2 separate regions of the Homo sapiens genome follow, and region 1 is linked to region 2. The links are contacts of gene promoters, found by promoter capture Hi-C in blood cells and fetal thymus (Javierre and others, 2016). All regions are on one chromosome and are shown on one strand. Each heading gives the region's core, a stretch centred on a gene start or on the middle of the fragment in contact. The rest is flanking DNA. Distances are from core to core; before and after follow the strand shown. Region 1 holds the start of LINC01124 (long intergenic non-protein coding RNA 1124). Region 2 holds the start of DLX2 (distal-less homeobox 2).

What was found. The method cuts DNA at HindIII sites, captures the fragments that hold promoters and counts their contacts. A CHiCAGO score of 5 or more calls a contact.
Region 1: the fragment with the promoter of LINC01124 here is called in contact with the fragment with the promoter of DLX2 in region 2 in 2 of 17 cell types (naive B cells and total B cells); the score reaches 13.5 in naive B cells.

The regions. Positions count from the first base shown.
Region 1 is chr2:170,713,263-170,716,095 of GRCh38, reverse strand. It overlaps LINC01124 (long intergenic non-protein coding RNA 1124), which reads left to right and starts at 1,529. Exons shown (of 1, transcript NR_027433.1): 1 at 1,529-2,833. SP5 (Sp5 transcription factor) reads right to left here and starts at 759. Exons shown (of 2, transcript NM_001003845.3): 1 at 533-759. The coding sequence starts at 583. All of the region lies in intron 5 of ERICH2-DT (ERICH2 divergent transcript), which reads left to right. RefSeq lists enhancers at 1-385, 386-1,175 and a silencer at 1,393-1,442. The HindIII fragment of the contact is 7,273 bases long and covers 1-2,833 here.
Region 2 is chr2:172,101,644-172,104,392 of GRCh38, reverse strand. DLX2 (distal-less homeobox 2) reads left to right here and starts at 1,493. Exons shown (of 3, transcript NM_004405.4): 1 at 1,493-2,254; 2 at 2,747-2,749. The coding sequence starts at 1,855. DLX2-DT (DLX2 divergent transcript) reads right to left here and starts at 1,387. Exons shown (of 5, transcript NR_126376.1): 1 at 1,125-1,387; 2 at 361-455. RefSeq lists a silencer at 1,492-1,691. The HindIII fragment of the contact is 7,057 bases long and covers 1-2,749 here.

The DNA of each region.
Region 1 (2,833 bases), core at 280-2,779, 1.4 Mb after region 2:
GAGGGAAACTTTTGGTGCCTGCGCTACCTGAACGTGGGGCCCGCGAGCGCTTCTTGCTAAACTACTTGGTGCACTGAGACGCCATCCAGCCTTAGAGGAAGCAGGCGCGAAGTGGGAGGGGGAGGCATCCGACGGGCCCCTCCCGGCTCCGTGGTCAGTAAGAGTCGGGAAACACCCACAACCCCGCCGGCCGGCCGCTCTCCCTCCCATCTTTTAAGCTCTCTTGTCCTCACTGCCTTCGCGCTCCTCCCTGGCCCGCCCCAGGCTGAAATCAGCAGGAGGGCCCAGCAGGGTGAGCTCCGGTCCTGTTCTCGGCCAGCCGGGCACCTCCGAACAATCCCGGATCCACGCGTCCCTCCAGCAAAGGCCACACCGGATTAGGTGTGAAGTTGGCGTGGGCACCCCTAGGCCTGGCTCCAGCTGCACCCATCGGCGGGGTTCCCTTTGAGGTTCAAGGTGCACGGAGTACCAGGAGAGATCCGGACACGGCCCTTTCCACCTTTCTCCCGCCCCCTCCGGGCTCGGCCCTGACCTGGAGAAAGGCCTGCAGCGAGTCGTTCCGGAGGACGGCCACCGCGGCCATGGCTACGGCTTGCAGGCCCCTGGCTGCGGAGCGGGACGCCGCCGCCGAGGCATGGACACCCGAAGGCGAGGACGAAGGGCCGCCCAGCCTGCCTCCCTGGCGCCTGCTCTGAGCGCCGGGGCCCTCCCCGCCCTTGCCCCTCGCCGCGCCCCGCTCGCTCGCCCCGCGCGCGGTCTGAGCGCTTCAGGATCACCTCCAAGAATTTGATAAGGACTTTGCTGGGCCGCCAGCCAGTCAGAGGGAAGATTTATGGCTTTGAAGTTTGCCGCTACCCAATCATCAAAGAATAGCGGCTCTTTCAGAAGCGAAAGCAAATCCTTTGAATCCACAAAGCTCCTATGGTGTGTTTGTTGGTCTGGATAAAAGAACTGATTATTAGGGGGGATGGGAAGGGAGGAGATAAAGGCGGGACAATTAATGAAGTAATCACTATGTGGGAAATGTATATACACAAATAATTGGATTTTCCTGATCAAAGGGGGCCTTGCCGCCTGGAGACCCGCGCTTGGGTTGCTCGAGACACTCTTCCCGCCCCCCCCAACATACACACACACACACACACACACACTTGCAATTAAAGATTTGCACCGACGCAGCGCCCAAAGTGACAAAGTGTCTTTGTTATCTCTGGAAAAATCTGCCTTCGGCTTCCAGGCGCCGGACTTTGAGACGGCAAAGAGTGTAACTCTCCCCTGTATTTACTTGCACACCCTGCACCCTCGCCGCACACGCACCCGCCCGCGCACACAGCGGACCCAAGCGAGATCCCCGGTGGGGCGTGGGACCGACAGCGCCCGGCCCGCCGCGTGTCCCCCGCCCGCCGCGGTGGGGCCGAGGGCAGGGCTGTGACCTGGGGCGGGGCCGGGCGGCCGCCCAGCGCGGCGTTGGGTGGCGCGCACGCTCCAGGGCCGCCCGCCTGACGAGCGACCGGGGCTCTCCTGTGACGTTCCTGCTGGCGACCTGGAAGTTTTCCTCAGGCCACAACTTTTGCAGAGTGGACCTGGGAAAAACACCCGCGCCGCGCATACCCTCAAAGCTGAGCTCGGCAGGACACCCAAGGCGACCCGTCATGCCCACCCGAGGGGAAGAAGCTGTGCTGTCCCGCCCCCTTCTCCCCAGGCCACCCAGGAGGCCCGGGCTGGGCTGTGGGGGGCCGAAAGCCCCAGCGCTGCTGGTGATTTCTCGCCCGGAGCCCCGCCAAGCCAGCGCGCCCTCTCGCAAGCCTGGCAGACCAGGAGCTACTGGAAAAAAGGCGCGGTCGAGGAAGCCTGGTTGTTGTGGTCCCACAAACCACAAATCATACGAGAGAGGATCCCGAAGGCGGGAGAAAAGTCAGTACAGACTTGTTCCTGCCACCTTTGGAAAGAAAAAGTTCCTCACCAGGCGCGGGGCGTGCTTTGCTCTGGGCAGGGTCGCGCTTGCAGGGGCTTGGGTGACCCCCATCCCTCCCTGGCGGCTCACCTCCTGCCGAGGAGGGCCACCTGCCTCCTCCTGGCCCAGGGCGCAGGGCGCGTCCTGCCCCGGCACTGCGGACGCGGGGATCGCCTCTCCCGGGCGCGCGGGCGGGGAAGGAGGAAGAGGCGGGCGGGGAACCGCGGGGTGCTCACCGCCCTGGGGCATTAGGGGTGCGGAACCGCGTTGGAGGCCTCGCGGCCCCGGCTCGCGAGAGCGCACTGCGGAGTGGCCGCCGGAGCTCGGCCTACTCCTCTCCCCCACCCACCTCCCGTCGGACACAGTCTCCACTCTCCAGGCCGCCGGCCGTGGGGGAGCCCCTAATCAGTTCGCGCCCGGCCTCTCTGCCCGTCTTCCTCACGGGAACCGCACTGCGACCGGGACGGACGGGGTGACCTATCTCCCGATGCAGCGTCAGAGGTTAGCCTAACTACAACGGACTCGGAATCTGGACTGTATAAGGATGCCCTCCGCACTTCCATCAGGGGTCGGGGATGCGATGCCTCCGGGCCCACCTTCTCCCACGCCCAGGGCGCGCCTGCGGAATGAGAATATCGTACTCAAGACGGGTGGGCTGCTTGCGACCCAAATACAATGGGTCCCTCGCACATCCTGCACTCGCACGCCCCCTTCTCCCCCAACGAGTTGTCCCCTCTAAAACGCGAGCGGCGACCACACAACTTGGCCGACCCGATCTGGCTTCTGAAGATGAGGTCGGCTGCTCTGGGAGCGGAGAAGGGGAGAGAGCTTAGTGGTTTCATCCGAGGCCTGGCCAACCTGCTCCTTCCCACGCTCCCG
Region 2 (2,749 bases), core at 244-2,743:
GCCTTCCTTAACCAAAAAAAAGCTGGGAACTAAATCCAGGTAGACTTAAAGGCGCATTACCTATCTCATTATTTCTCTGTGTGAATGCTGGAGTTTTAATTACACACTTGCTTTTTATGGGGAAGAAGACCAAAGATCATATTTTTGAAGGTATCAACTTGTTTTCTATCAGACAGTTGTTTTAACAAGTTCTTTCAGCGACATGTTATGTCTTTAGGAAAGGGTGCTTCAGATGGTGCGCACTAGCACAATTTTGTGGCTTTTAATTACTATTTTGTTCTTTTGGGGGGTTTCAGAGGCTGGCGCCTGGGCGTGATTAGACCGTCTACCCCGCCCCCCGCAACCTCGCACACTGCCCACCAGGTGGCGCCACAAAGCAAGCGCTGCCGCAGGAACTTCGGACTTGGGAGTCCAGCAAGTCGTGCAGTCCATCACCGTCGGGCCAAGGTTTCCAACTACAAGGTTATAGAGACAGAGGAAGTCACCATTTCCGATTTTTTAAAAAACAGAGGGAAAAGAAAAAAATTGCAATGATAGGGTAGAACAGGGTCCTAAAATGCAAAACTGTAAAACAGGATTAAATTCAACAAACCAGATAAAACTTTTTATATTTGTTGTAAATTTACAGAGAAGTGATAAATCTAGTATCTACTTGATAAATCTATAATCTCACCTATTATCCTATTTCCTTTTTCGCAAGAGCATCGAATTTTCAAGGACAACTGGTGAACCTTTCCACCCGAAGGAGGAAGTCCTCGGGATGGCTTTCAGGGTGTCATTTACTTATCAAACGTATATAATTACTCAGAGTCTCGCGTGTCGGGAAAGTACCAGGGAAAGTGGTTTCAAATATACTATTAGCAATAATACCTTTAAGTTTATGTAGCTTCTCTTTGAAGCAACAAGGAAAACCCGTTTCAATATTATATGATTAATTGTCCTAATATCCCTGCGGATTGGTTAAGAAGCGAGCATTACACGTGGTTTGTGGATAATTAAATCAATTGATTATGTCAAGTGCCGAGTGGCTAACAAGAATAAATGCCAGACACTTCGAGGAAAAGTGAAGATAGAGCTGGCTGGACTCTGGGCACCGATGTACTTTAATGTGTTTGAAAACTGACCTCGGACATGAAAGTACGAATCACTGGAACTGGCACTTGCTCACAGAATGGGAGAGGGGACCCCACTTCTTCCTCTGAGGCAAAACGCCAGTCTGTCTCCACGCCTTCTGTCTTCCTGCTGCGGGCCACCCTGACTCCTCGCTACCTCGACCCCTCGCCTCGCTGCTCACATTCGGCGGCAGTCTGTTTGCACCTGGGGCCGCTGCAGCCGCAGCCGCAGCCACAGCGCCCACCATGTGACGCCCGCCCCTTGGCCGGGCGTTCCCGGAGCTCCGCGGCCGTTTGCTTCTGATTGGCTGTTGCTAGGTGACGTCGCCAGCGCTCACGTGACGAGTGTTAAATGCCCACACTTCAGGAGCCCGCCTGGCAGACAATCGTAAAGCCGCTCGGGGCCGCTCACCTGCTCCCGCCTCCCAGAGCCCCGACCCGGCCCAGCCACCCCTGCCCCCTCCACTGCCCGCCCCCCGCCAGAGCCCGCGCTCGCGCTGGGCAAGGAGCCGAGCGGGCCCAGAGGCCGAAAGAGGATGCGACCAGAGGCAGCTGTCCCGAGCAGCGCACGGTGATCGCCTCCCCCGGAGGAGGAGGCGCCTAGACGGTTGCCTCCTTTCTTGTTTCCCCACCACCACCCCCGTAATTACATTGGCTGCTGGAGGGGACCGGGAGAGACAGAGGAGGCGCCTGGCTTCCCCCGCACGCCCGCCACCTCTGCTCTTTCCCGTCTCGGGCCAGGATGACTGGAGTCTTTGACAGTCTAGTGGCTGATATGCACTCGACCCAGATCGCCGCCTCCAGCACGTACCACCAGCACCAGCAGCCCCCGAGCGGCGGCGGCGCCGGCCCGGGTGGCAACAGCAGCAGCAGCAGCAGCCTCCACAAGCCCCAGGAGTCGCCCACCCTTCCGGTGTCCACCGCCACCGACAGCAGCTACTACACCAACCAGCAGCACCCGGCGGGCGGCGGCGGCGGCGGGGGCTCGCCCTACGCGCACATGGGTTCCTACCAGTACCAAGCCAGCGGCCTCAACAACGTCCCTTACTCCGCCAAGAGCAGCTATGACCTGGGCTACACCGCCGCCTACACCTCCTACGCTCCCTATGGAACCAGTTCGTCCCCAGCCAACAACGAGCCTGGTATGCATAACGCTGAAGTCAAGAGTGCCGAGTCGGTCTAGTTAATGGGATGGATGGGTAAACGTGTTTGGGGCGGGGGGCCTTCGAAAGCTCTGGATTTTCACGCTGCCTGCTCACCGCCCGCTTGTGCCCTTTACCCTCCCCAGCCTCCAATCTGCCGCAGGTCGCCGGTTACGTCCCTCTCTCCTTTGGTAGGACCTGGTGGCCTCAAGAGCCAAGTGGGCGTGCTCTGCCTGCCTCATAAGGGCATCTCCTTGCCACCAGCTTCTTTCTCTTGGGTGTGCACTTGTCTCCCCCTTCCCTGGAGGGTACAGCTCCCGGGGTCGGTGGCGGCTCCGATCGCACGCTGCGAAGTTGCGCCTGCCCGTGGCGCCACAGTTCAGTGCACCCACCTCTTTGCTCAAGCCAAGTCCCCCCCGCCGGGCCCTCTAGGAGGGCGGGAACTCCAGGACCCCTGGGTTGCGCTGTTCTTACGATTCTTTATCGTTGCAGAGA